2 separate regions of the Homo sapiens genome follow, and region 2 is linked to region 1. The links are contacts of gene promoters, found by promoter capture Hi-C in human tissues and cell types (Jung and others, 2019). All regions are on one chromosome and are shown on one strand. The core of a region is centred on a gene start or on the middle of the fragment in contact, and the rest is flanking DNA. Distances in the headings are between cores, read along the strand shown. Region 1 holds the start of TEKT4 (tektin 4). Region 2 overlaps LOC442028 (a long non-coding RNA gene).

Region 1 (6,603 bases), core at 2,585-5,084:
GCCTACAACAGACACATCAGATGAGACTCCAGGCAAATACATAATTTTCACTGAGGACTTATTGGTTTTAAGAATAGGTCCTGGTGTAGAGAAGTCCCTCAACCTACTGTGCAACATGTTTTGAGAAGCGGGTAAGCTATATGTTTTGTGGTTTTGTTTCATAAATGCATCTACAAGAAGACCAGTATTGACTGAATGAAGCTTTTGTTTAAAGGGCTAAAATATGCTTTGTGGTTTTATATGCAGAAACTACTTTAAACCTAATGACTATTAATTGTATCATAGCTTGTGATGTAGTCTGCTCATGGCTTTTAAGGTAAATTGTGCCATGATCCACTGCCATTCTAATTGCTTTAATTAACAAGTCATTACCACACTACTGTTACATCTTAATTATGCATACAGACAGGTAGACTTATTTTACATATGTGAACTAATAGTTGTCAAAGCAAATGCAAATTGTATTCCGCAAGTAAACTCTCTCTGAAATTTCTAGGGATGTTCTTTAAGTGAAATTAATATTCAAACTGAAGATTTTAGTTAAAAGAACTGAGTGCAGATTAAAGTCTTGTTGTGATTTAAACATAGTCAAGAGTACAACTGTGATACTTCATGGAAGTTATGCAATAAAATGTCTCTAACCTGCAAACAAATCTATCAAGCAGACGGCACAGTACTGAATTTGAAACCAGAAATACTGGGTTTTTATATAAATGCTTCATAGATTTGTTTTATGATAAAGGGTACATAACTCTCCTAAACCTCACACCACCTCTTAAATAGGGACAGTAAGTCCACATCAACACGCCTGCCTTAGCTATTATTAAACTCTTACAGTATGATGTAAAGTGAAAGTACAATGTAACATCATTCCTAGGCCAACTTTGTCCAGTTTTATACAGAAACGTGCCAACTTTTCTGTTTGCAAGGATAATATCAAAGCAAACACCAGAAGGTTGTATCTTTGATGCATTTTTTCCAAATCATACACATAATAAACCAAAGACAAATGATGAATATTATTTCAGAAAATATAAAGTCTTCCCCTTTCTTCTTTTGCCAAGGAAGTCTAATATTTTCACCATTTTTATGCACACAATCAACTTTATTTAACCTGGAAGTTAATGTCTCATTGTTTTCATTGTTCTAAATAAACACCTTTTCCCTTGAGTATTGTTCTAAAAATTTTGAAGTCGTCTGAAAAATTTTGTTCTGATTTTTCACGGTTGTGTTGATGATATGCGAAAAGGAATACAGATGGTATTTAATTATGAACAAGAAAAGGTGTTAAATATCATTAGTCATTAGAAATTTGCAAATTAAGACCACAATGACTAACACATATATATCAGAATAGCTAAAATAAAAATAAAACATCAAACGCTGAGGAGCATGAGTAAAAACTAGAGCTTTCACACATTACTGGTGGGAATGTAAAATCGTACAGCTATGCCAAAAAGGAGTATAGTAGTTTCTTAAGAAACTAAAGGAACTCAAGTCCCCAGGCCTGCAGTCTGGGCCAAGGTCACAGGCCCTGGATCAATCAGGATGGGGTTCAAGGGCCTTCCTGGGGCCATCCAGTGTTCAAGGTGCCCTTTGGTGGCCTCATCTGCCCCTCCGCCCCTGAGCACGCCCCTCTGTCCCTCCAATCCTCCCTGTCACAGGGACGTCTGTCACAGAGCCATGCCCCACCTCCTGCTTTCTGGAGATGCCAACTGCCCTCCCCATCTCTGGGTCCTGACCAAGGTGCTCTAATGGACACCCCCTGACCCAGGTCTCAGGGAGCTGCCAGCACGATGGGTCCCTAAAGCTGAGATCCAGCAAGACACATGTGGCCTGAGGGTCCCACTCTCTGGCTGGCAGAACCCAGAGGTGGGAGCACACTGGAGTGTCCTTCAGGGCATCTTCACCCCATGAGAGGGCTGGGGGCTTTGGGAGTTTGCAGCTGGCAGGAGTGAGGGCCCAGTCTCCTATCTCTGATGCGTCCTTGGTCAAATCCTGTGCCTCAGCCTGCAGGGCCTATCGTGGTCACCACATGAATGTGTTCCCTTAGTCTGGGAGCCCCAAGCAGGCAGCACCCCCTGCCAACGACTTCAGGGCACCTGGAAGTGGAGGCTGAGAAGTCTCCCACTTCGCAGAGCTGGGCTCTGGCCCAGAGGCCTTCTCGTTGGCTCAGGTGGTCTCTCGGGCTCCTGGGGCCACAGATCAGGGGACAAACACGGGCAGCTCTGCTCTGCTCTGCCTAAAGAGAGGTGCCCAGTGAATGCAGGTTCCAGACAAAAGGTGGAGCCTGGCATCCTGCCCTGCGTGTGGGCTCCAGCCTGCTGCCATCTGGGGAAACTGAGTCATGGCGAGGCTCGAGGATGTTTCTCAGACCACACCAGTCCCTGAAGGTCCCCTGACCTCCCAATTTTGATGGACAGTAAGAAGAGGTTCCCAGGCCGCCTGCCACAGGTTCTGACTCGGCCTGGGTTAGGGTAAGTCTCCGGGCTGCTGTCCTCAAAAGCCCCATCAGGAGGCTGTGTCAGGCCAGGCGCACCGTGGTGACAGCAGCATGGACTGAGGGTTCTGGCCGCGGGAGAGGCCAGGACGGGGGGAGGTCAGGTCCAGGAGGAGGGCACTGGCCGGCACATGGTGGGGCTGGAGAGACCCTGGGCGGGGTGGTGGGAATGGCCCAGGAGGAGCTCCGGCTCCTGTGGCTGGAGTGAGGGTGTGGGCTGTGGTGGGAGAGGGGGTGAAGGTGGAGAGAACAGGGGCCCAGAGGTCTGTGCTGTAGGAAGGGTATGGACTTCCTAGTGAGGACTTTCTGGTGGGGGGCTCTCAGAGAAGAGGAGGCCGGAGGGGCTGGGGGTCCCCAGGACTGCATGCGCCAGGCAGACGGAGGGGAGGCCGAGCCAGGAGCCGCAGGCTTCTCAGTGCCAGACCAACGTCGCCCTCCGCTGGCCGTGTGGGGAATCGCGCCTAGGCTGGGGCTCCCCTGGCCCCAGGTTAGGGGGACTCCGATGTGTCCTGGGGCGCTTCCTGCCCATCCAGCCTCCGCCAGGCAGCCTGGCCCTGAATGGCTTTGAGGGCAGCCTCCGCAGCACAGGACCTGCCTCCGCCCTGTGGGGCAGATTTGGGCGTCTGACTCTGGACACTTACCCAGAGGCTGAATTCAACTCCCCAGCGAAGAGCACACTCAGACTCCCTCCCCGCTGTGCCCAGCCTGAGGGGACCCTGGCTTGGACTTGGGAGGAGAAGGCCAGAGGCCAGGGCCTGGCTCTCAGGCACTAGGTGCAGGAGAAAATGGAGCAGAGTTCCTGCAGGAACTGCCTCAGACTGCCCCCGAGGGGACCTGGCCTGGAACCCTCCCTGTGCTACCAGGCTGCTGTTGGGGCCAGGAGGGCAGGGAGAGCAGCCACCTGTACGGCATCAAGTAACACTATCAGTCAGCACACCCAACACCCACACGACAGCCACAGCCCTCTGCCCTGAGGTGGCTGCAACTGAGCAGAGTCTCCTGTCTTGTTCACCCTGAGCGCGGAGCTCCGCACAGGACAGGATCAGAGCGCAAACCAGGAACAAATGGATGAACCAAGGAAGGGGCCAGGGCAGTAGGTCCCCACCCACACCCTGAACCCTAAGGGTGGGACTCAGAGGCTGGAGACGGGCTGGCCCCAGGATCCTCTAAGTGACAGGAACCCTTGGCCACTGTTGATTGCCCCGAGGCGGGGACAGGGATGGTGGGGCTGGGGCTGCCTGGCCCTTTAAGAGGGCAGTTCTGCCCACCACCCTGAATGCCCCTCCCCTAGCTACTGGAGAAGAGATCCCGTTTCTTGGCAACAGGAAGCTCTTGGTTTACACAGTGTCACCCAAGCGACTGGGAGCCGCGTCCTGCTCTGGGACTGAGCCGTTGGAGCTGCCCCGCTGACCGCACTAGGCTGACCGCAACCGGCTGACCACACACAGTCCTCACTCCCCTGGCCCTGGTGGGCGGCAGGCACCATGGCGCAGACAGTGCCGCCCTGCGAGCTGCCCTGCAAAGAGTACGACGTGGCCCGTAACACGGGCGCCTACACGTCCTCCGGCCTGGCCACCGCCAGCTTCCGCACCTCCAAGTACCTGCTGGAGGAGTGGTTCCAGAACTGCTATGCTCGCTACCACCAGGCCTTCGCCGACCGCGACCAGTCGGAGCGGCAGCGGCACGAGAGCCAGCAGCTGGCCACAGAGACCCAGGCGCTGGCGCAGCGCACGCAGCAAGACTCCACGCGCACAGTGGGCGAGCGACTGCAGGACACGCACAGCTGGAAGTCGGAGCTGCAGCGTGAGATGGAGGCGCTGGCTGCGGAGACCAACTTGCTCCTGGCCCAGAAGCAACGGCTGGAGCGCGCCCTGGACGCCACAGAGGTGCCCTTCTCCATCACCACTGACAACCTGCAGTGCCGTGAGCGCCGCGAGCACCCCAACCTCGTGCGCGACCATGTGGAAACGGAGCTGCTGAAGGTGCCAGCACCCTTGGGTGGCCGGGATTTGTGGGCGCAGAGAGGAGGAGCCCCCCCCCCCGCAGTTCATGTGGACAAGCCACGTGGCTGCTGCAAGCACGCGGGAGCCCAGCCCTCTGCACGTGAGACCCCTGAGTCCCGAAATCTGGCCCCTTAGTGACAGGAGGCAGCTTTGCCCCAGAAGACCCCTGACTTCCAAGCAGCTGTTTCTCCTCTCCTCCTCTAATCCCTTTGAGTCCTGGCACAGTCATCCTGACCCTGGGCTCCCTGGGCTAAGCCACAAGGCACCTCCCCAGAGACCCTCCCTCGCTGGGACAGTTGCTCCCAAGGTGGAAACCCAGGTCTGGGCCAGCACTGCAGGTGTGGACAGGTAAGGTGGGGTGGGCTGGGAGCCACTGCTCCCATTCATCCTATACAGAGCCGGGGACACAAAGATCTGCACCCACAGGTCCCCTCTCCTCCATGTCCCCTATAACTTCCCAATCCACCCCAGCTTGTCTGTGGGGCAGCCCCACAGGGTGAGAGAGTAACTCAGTCCTGGCCCAGATGCTGGCTCTGGAGAATTCTCTGACCTCTCAGAGCCTGGGGCCTCCCTGAGAACCACTACAGGCCTGTAGACATTCGTGAAAGATGTGGGGTGGGGGCAGCTGGTCTCCTGCCATACCCCAAGCTCAGGCAAGAACCCTTGAGTCCCTCCCTCCCCTCATGCCTTCCCTCCTCCCTTCTTTACCCTTCTGCAGGCCCTTCCCCCTGCACTCTCTCAGTGCCTCAAGAACTCCTGCAGCTCCCGCAAACTCTCTGCCCGCAACAAGGGCACCTGCCAACTGATGGAGACACTGACAGTGCACGGAGAGGCAAACCCAGGGATAGAGGGGCGCAGGACCCGGGCCCTGGCACACAAGGAAGTACCCAGTGGTTGAGGCAAAGACCCCAATCACAGAGAAAAGGCTTGTTCCTACACACAGCAAATTAAACTGGCCAGGCAATAAGAAGAAACACAGGGTCCTTCTCCTGTTCTTGGTGTGAAGATGGCCTTTCCCAGCACAGAGCCCTGAGGGGCAGCCTGGGCGGGCATCTGGGCCCCCAGAGTTTGGGTCCTCAGGGGCTGTCCAGAGGCCAAGGGCAGGCCAACGTTCCCAGGTGCACTGAGTGAGCAGCAGCGATGACTCCTGAAGCCTGGGGCGTGGGAACTGCCGCTGAGGGACCTTCCCAGCAGCCCACAGAAGGCCCTGGAGGAAAACACCCCACTTACAACGCACCAAGGAGAATGCCCAAAAGCCCAAGATAAACCCAGTGAGAGAGCAGAACTTACACAGTCAGAGCTCAGGCCCGGCATTCAACTCCTTGTGGTTGCTCAGGTGTTGACCAAGGCCTGCAGCAGCTGGGCCTCCTGGGATCCTCACCAGGGACTGGCTCTGGTGCTCAGGGCGTCTCCTCCCTCAGGAAGCCGAGCTCATCCGGAACATTCAGGAGCTGCTGAAGAGAACCATCATGCAAGCAGTGAGCCAGATCCGGTGGGTAGAGGGCTGCCCAAGGGATGATTCCTGACCCTACCCACAGCTGGTCCTGGGGCAAGGCATTGAACGACAGGACCCTGAGACTCAGAGCCAGCAGGGGCTGCCCCAGGTCACAGTGGAGCGCAGGACTGGGTGGGGGAGGTTCCGGCGCAGCCTGAGGTTGAGTGGCCAGAGCCCAGTGCCACATCTGATCTGCAGCCTCCCAGCCTGGGCCGCAGCTCCTGGTCACTGCTGAGCACGAGGGCTGCCCGGGACAGGCCCACCCAGAACTCCCTCCTGAGGCAGGCATTGGGGCCCAGCCTGCAGCACAGAGGGTCCCCAGCAGGGCCCTCCCTGGGCACACATCAAGGCCCTGCCCCACCCCGCCCCAGACTGAACCGGGAGCACAAGGAGACCTGCGAGATGGACTGGTCAGACAAGATGGAGGCCTACAACATCGACGAGACCTGCGGGCGCCACCACAGCCAGAGCACCGAGGTGCAGGCTCATCCGTACTCCACCACCTTCCAAGAGAGGTGGGCCCCAGCTCTGCCCCTGCACTTGCCCTGGCTGTGGTCTCGCCTCCCTCTGCCTGGGGGCCCCAGCGGCGCTGCTTTCACCAGCCT
Region 2 (6,603 bases), core at 1,817-4,316, 39 kb after region 1:
AGTAGGGGTTTGACAGCGCACACGGTGGCCAGACAAGCCACACCCCTGTTGCACATCCTGCCAAGGGGAGTCAGGGAACTCTCCAGTTTCATCAGGAATGCAATTAGTTCAGCCACTGTGGAAAGCAGTTTGGAGATTTCTGAAATAACTTAAAACAGAACTACCTTTCAACCCAGCAATCCCATTACTGGGTATATACCCAAAGGAATATAAATCATTCTGTCATAGACATATGCACACATATTTTCATTATAACACTATTCACAACAGCAAAGACATGTAATCAACTTAGATGCCTGTTAACAGAAGACTAGATTAAAAAAAAAATACACCATGGAATACTACACACGTATAAAATAGGATGACATAATGCCTTTTGCAGCAACATGAATCGAGCTGGAGACCATTATTCTAAGTGAATTAATGCAGGAACAGAAAACCAAACACACACTGCATGTTCTCACTTATAAGTGGGGGCTAAACATTGAGTCCACATATGTGGACACAAAGAAGGGAACAATAGACACAAGGTCTACTGTGGGTGGAGGGTGGGGGGAGAGTGAGGATCAAAAAACTCCCTATTAGATACTACGCTCACTACCTGGATGACTACGTAATCTTTACACCAAACCCCACTGACACACATTTTACCCACATAATAAACCTGCACATGTACCCGCTGAACCTAAAATAAATGTTGGAAGGAAATAAAGTTACAACCAACTCTTGTACTGTTGTGAGGAAACAATCATATGTGTTGACAAAAAATCAACTACTAATAGATTTATAATAGTATATATGTAGCAGGAAAATATCAGATATAACCTATGTACCCAAAAGTATGACTTAAAAACAGCATGACAGTCTTTATGAAGGGATATTGTGCAACTACCAGAAGCATATTTTCAGAGATTATTTATTAACATACGATAATGACTACATTGAGTGGTTTTTAGAAGCATGAATTGAAACTATGTACAAGCATGACTTTATTGAACTTACAAATAACATTACACACACATTTACATAATTATAAGTATGCTTATACGTTAATAATTTTTACTTATTTATATTCATATGTAAGGCCAATAGGAACTAATCTCTATATCTGAGTGATTATTTCATAGATAATTTATGTTTGTTCTGTAAAAATATAAACACTGTTATGGCTCTTCCAAGTATCCTGAAAGGATACAGCTTATAATTAAACAACAACAATTTTAGAAATAATTATTTTAGATGAGGCTATGACGAATCTAGTTTCATTGCACACTTTAACTTTGGAACATTTCATGAAGCGTCCCTTGATCACGACTCTCATATTCAGGAGTTTTTTGAGATCAAAATGGGACAATCAGTATGAATCCATTTCTTAGACATGCAAATGGATAACTTCAAATAACAGTAGTGATTTAATCAGCGTGCACAGTTGCTCTGGGACAAAACTTGGAAATGAGCATATTTTTAGATTCTTAATGTTTTACACACTTTAGCAGTCCACAGCACCATTACATACTTATTTTTCTACTAAAATACCTTGGTAGAAATTCACAGTAGAGATCAGGCTTGTCCTTCATACATTAACTAATCAAGTAGGAAAATGCAAATGAGAACACAGTGCCAAACATAGGCACCACATGGAAACAAGTATGAGGCTGTCAGGAAGCCATTTTTGTAGCTTTGTAGCCCAATTATATTTTTCCTAATGTATTGCACACAAAACTTGGGGGAAAAAAAAGAGGCAGAGAGAAAACAGGTTCTATCAGCCCTGTCTCACAATCCACAAGTTCATCCTATCAGAGGAGGAACTATGTAAAACAAATTTTATTGATTGAATGTCCTATTTAATCGCAAAACTGTATGAGAACACGCTTGTGACTTATTTAGCAGCTTGTTTGCTTTCCACTGGCTTCACGAGTGTCCTCTGGAAAAAGAAAGTACATTTGGAACCCTGTACACCTTTTCTTTCTCCAGTACCCTCTTCTCACTTCCATCACTAAGGTGATAGAAGCAACTAGGGGCAATGCATTTGTAGCACACCTGAGTCAGAGGTATCCGCCAGGGGAAGGATCAGACCTGATTGAAAGCACGTCGTTGGAATTCGGAGGCTTCCAGTAGCTGTAACGTAAACAATGATGTTTACTGTTCCCTGCCCTCCACTTTGATCACTCTGGGAAACGTTTTTTTAAAAAATCAATTGTATTGAAACATAATTTACATAAAATAAATACTCCTATTTTAAAGTGCACAGTTTGCTGAATTTTGCCAGATGTAACCTCCCAGGTGTATAAAATTGATTAAACTGATCTTTCAAATAATAAATTAACCTTGCAATCTTGTTAGAAATTTCATTTGCTCACAGTTTATTATCCATTCTATGTACTGCTATATTCAATTGGTTATTATGTTTTAAGAACTTTTGAGTCTATGTTTATGAGGAATAAATATCAAAGTTGTATAATGCCTTTGTCTCGATTTAGAATCAGGGCAATACTGGGTTCATAAAATAAGGCAGTAAGGGTCCCTTTAATTTTTTTTTTTTTTTTTTTTTTTTTTTGAGACAGAGATTCACTCTTGTTGCCCAGGCTGGAGTGCGATGGTGCAATCTCGGCTCTCTGCAACCTCTGCCTCCCAGGTTCAAGCTATTCTCCTGCCTCTGCCTCACGAGTAGCTGGGATTACAGGCATGTGCCACCATGTCCGGCTAATTTTGTACTTTTAGTAGAGATGGGGGTTTCTCCACGCTGGTCAGGCTAGTCTCAAACTCCTGACCCCATGTGATCTGCCCGCCTCGGCCTCCTAAAGTGCTGGGATTACAGGTGTGAACCACTGTGCCCGGCCCTTAAATTCTATTTCTTAAAAAGAGTCCGTTCAAGATTGGCATTATAGATACTCCTCAACTTACAATGGGCTTGTCTTAATGAACTCATCCTAAATTGAAAATATTTTAAGTCTAAAACGCATTTAATATATTTAACCTACTGAATATCATGACTTAGCCTCGCCTACCTTAAACTTGCTCAGAACACTTTTATTAGCCTACAATTGGGCAAAATCATCTACCACAAGGCCCATTTTAAAATATTGAGTATCTCATGAAATTTATTGAAAACTATTCTGATAGTGAAAAACTGGTCATATTGATGCTCATCATTAATGTACACACATGAAAGCACCATTATCAAGTCAAAAGAGCACAAGGTCAAACCACTGTAAGTTGAGGACTCTCTGTACTTTCTTAAATGTTTGATAGAATTCACCTAAGAAACCATGCAGCCCGGAATTCTTATAGAAATTTTTAATTAAAAAAAATTCTTCAATACATAGAGAAGCTATTATTTCTTTCTTTTTGCATCAGTTTTAAGAATTAGTTTTACAAATAATTTCCCATGTTATTTGTCAAATTGTATTGGCCTAAAGTTTTCATAATTATATTGATGTCTATAGGTTCTGTAATTACAAACTATTTAATTCCTGTTATCTAAATTTTGTAGCTTCTCTAATTTTTTTCTGTGATAAATCTTGCTAGCCATTGTTCATTAAAACATTTTTGTCAAAGAACCAATTTGTGGGTGTATTAATTAGCTCCACCTTTGGTTATTTGCTATGTTGTTGCTTTTTTATCTTTATCTCCTTCTTAATTTGGATATACTTTGCTCTTCATTTTTTTAGCTTTTTAAAAAAGAACCTAGAGGTCATTGATTTAAGCCTTTTATTTTCAATATTACATCTAAATTTACCTTTAAGAAATGATTTATCTGCATCCCATGTTTTAAGTTTTTAAAAATTTTTCTTTCAGTTTAAGCTATTTTGTGTGTGCGTGTGAAACTTTTCTTGGCCCATGAGTTTTTCTGAAGTATTTTGTAGCTTAATGTTCAAATGTTGGGGTATTATTTTATACATCCTAGTGTTGTCCATCTCTGGTTCATGAAACAATCCATGTTCTCCATTGCACTTAGTTGACATGTCTCCATGTCTCTGGAGAATTCCTCAGTCTTTGTAAAATGCTTTTGAAGAATACTGGCAGTTATTCTGTAGAACGCCCTTCCTCGATTTCAATTTGTCTGATGTTTTCTCATGATTAGGACTAAAGTTACACATTTTGTCTAAGAATACCATAGAACTGATGTTTTGTCCTACTCAGTGCATCATATAAGAAGTTACATGAAGTTCATTTACCTTATTATTAGTAATGTTAACTTTGATCACTTGGCTAAGGTAGCATCTCCACTTTGAAGTTACTATTCTGTAATTATCCTGTGGGAAGATACTTTCATATTATGCAAATATGTTCTTTCCCAACATATATTCACCACTAATCTTAGCATCCCTCCAAGGTTCTTTCTTCCTACAATTACTATGATATTTGCAAAATGATGATTCTTGCATTTTATGTCTCCTACATTTAATAAAATCTTACTGTAATAAAATACTGCCCATTCTCCCCCTTTGGTTTATATTTAATGTATTATTTATGTCAATATGGATTCATTAATTTTTTTTTATTTTTGAGATGCAGTCTTGCTTTGTCGTCCAGGCTGGAGTGCCAAGGTGCGATCTCAGCTCACTGCACTTCCACCTTCCGGGATTCAAGCCATTCTCCTGCCTCAGCCTCCCAAGTAGCTGGGACTACAGGCATGTGCCACCATGCCCAGCTAACTTTTGTATTTTTAGTAGAAGCGGGGTTTCACCACACTGGTCAGGCTGGTCTCGAACTCCTGACCTCAAGTGATCTGCCCGCCTCGGACTCCCAAAGGGCTGGGATTACAGGCATGAGCCACTGCACCCGGCCTGGATTAACTGAAAATTTTCTTCTGTAGATTGTAATATATTACTATTGTTATTTATTTTATTGCCCCAATTTTCTCAAATTTGGCTATGTAACTTTATTCAAAGTGGATTCTGTTTCCTTTTCACATTTTCCCCGTTTTGTATTTCCTTACTTTCTAGCATGACAAAATATTTCAAACTAATCTTCTATTTTCCCTGCCTAATCCTGATGTCAAATATGTTCCCAAGGAGCCTTGGTTCCTTTAATTGGAGAATGGTTTTCTCATTGTTACTGGGATGATGTTTCTAGGCCCTTTTGTTAGAGGAGCTAGAAAATGCATGTATGTATACTCACACATTTATACACATCTATATGTATACAATTATCCGTCTGTACATATACTAAAAACAATGACTTCATATAATACTTTTGATTCCAATCCAACACTACAGGATGCATTATAGCCTTTCTCCTTCCCTTATTTGTAACTCCATGCTCTGATGGTAGAAAACCTGGCTCTCATCAGACCACCATCACGAACGTCACCGCTAACTATCCACGCTAGAAAGTTCATGACCAACAGACTACTTCCGAGGAAACAAATGCTCACTGATGTCCTTCACCTCGGGAAGGCAACAGTGCCTAAGACAGAAATTCGGGGAAAACTAGCCAAAATGTACAAGACCACACCAGATGTCATCTCTGTATTTGGATTCAGAACTAATTTTGGTGGTAGCAAGACAACTGGCTTTGGCATGATTTACAATTCTCTGGATTATGCAAAGAAAAATGAACCCAAACACAGACTTGCAAGACATGGCCTCTATGAGAAGAAAAAAACCTCAAGAAGGCAATAAAAGGGAACGCCAAGAACAGAATGAAGAAAGTCAGGAGAACTGCAAAGGCTAGTGTTGGTGCTGGCAAAAAGCTGAAGGAGTAAAGGTGCTGCAATGATGTTATCTGTGGCCATTGTGGATTTTTCATGAGATTAATAAACCAAAAAGAAAAAAAAGAAAGCCTGGCTCTCATCCACAGTATATTTACATTTTGTTCAATCCTAGCATACACAAAATTTCACATTTGCAAACTCATACCCTTGTGAAAACACATTTGTAAACTATAGTGAAGTATTTGTGCAGTTTTGTCTTTAGCCTTAAAGATACAGTCAAGAACTCTTGCTTTTTTTAAGTTACTTTGTTTAGCTCTTTTGTGCCCCAATTCTGTGTGGTTCTAATAATAATTTGTAAGAGTTGAGTTCATTTGTTACTGTTTGTATTCCATTCCCCCATATCTGGTAAATTTAAATTATTTATTTGAGGGCATGTGAAATATTATAACTCTTAAGAATTAGAGCTAAGAAAAATGCTCAGCAAAGTGTCATTCTTCCCTCTTTTGTGCTATTGTTTCTATTACCCCATTCTTTCCACCCCATTCACACTCACCCTCTGTAGGTAAACAATCTGTTTCTGGATTTTATTTCCCTGTATTTATTTTGCACAAAAGATCATACATGCATATTTCCTTAAATCCTATCCTTTTCTACATGAAGCATAGTACACTATACATACTTTTTGCACTTTGCTCTTGCTTTTAACACTAGTGCATTATATTCATTTTAAAAGTTAAACATAGTTTTATGAACTCTAATAACATTTTTATCTTCTAGTTTCAAGATCCTTCACATTTCTGATTTTGTTTCTATTGTCTAATTTACTCCTGATTATGCTTCACATTCTCCTGCATCTTGGCATGTCTAGGAATTTTTTTTTTAATGCTGGAAATGTGAGTGGTTGCACTGTTGTTTTTTTCCTTTAAAAATGCTATACTTTCCTC

Evidence for each region. The method cuts DNA at HindIII sites, captures the fragments that hold promoters and counts their contacts. A contact is called where the count stands out against the background at its distance.
Region 2: a fragment that was not itself captured here is called in contact with the fragment with the promoter of TEKT4 in region 1 in 2 of the 25 tissues and cell types used here (hippocampus and spleen).

The regions. Positions count from the first base shown.
Region 1 is chr2:94,867,596-94,874,198 of GRCh38, forward strand. TEKT4 (tektin 4) reads left to right here and starts at 3,835. Exons shown (of 6, transcript NM_144705.4): 1 at 3,835-4,482; 2 at 5,925-5,995; 3 at 6,370-6,513. The coding sequence starts at 3,985. It overlaps LOC442028 (a long non-coding RNA gene), which reads right to left. Exons shown (of 10, transcript NR_037597.1): 9 at 5,794-5,957; 10 at 1,090-3,102. RefSeq lists enhancers at 2,632-3,145, 3,659-4,172, 6,073-6,603. The HindIII fragment of the contact is 10,124 bases long and covers 1-6,603 here.
Region 2 is chr2:94,907,128-94,913,730 of GRCh38, forward strand. All of the region lies in intron 5 of LOC442028 (a long non-coding RNA gene), which reads right to left. It also overlaps the pseudogene RPS24P6. Among named protein-coding and RNA genes, the nearest start is that of TEKT4, 39 kb to the left of the region's middle. The HindIII fragment of the contact is 7,749 bases long and covers 1-6,603 here.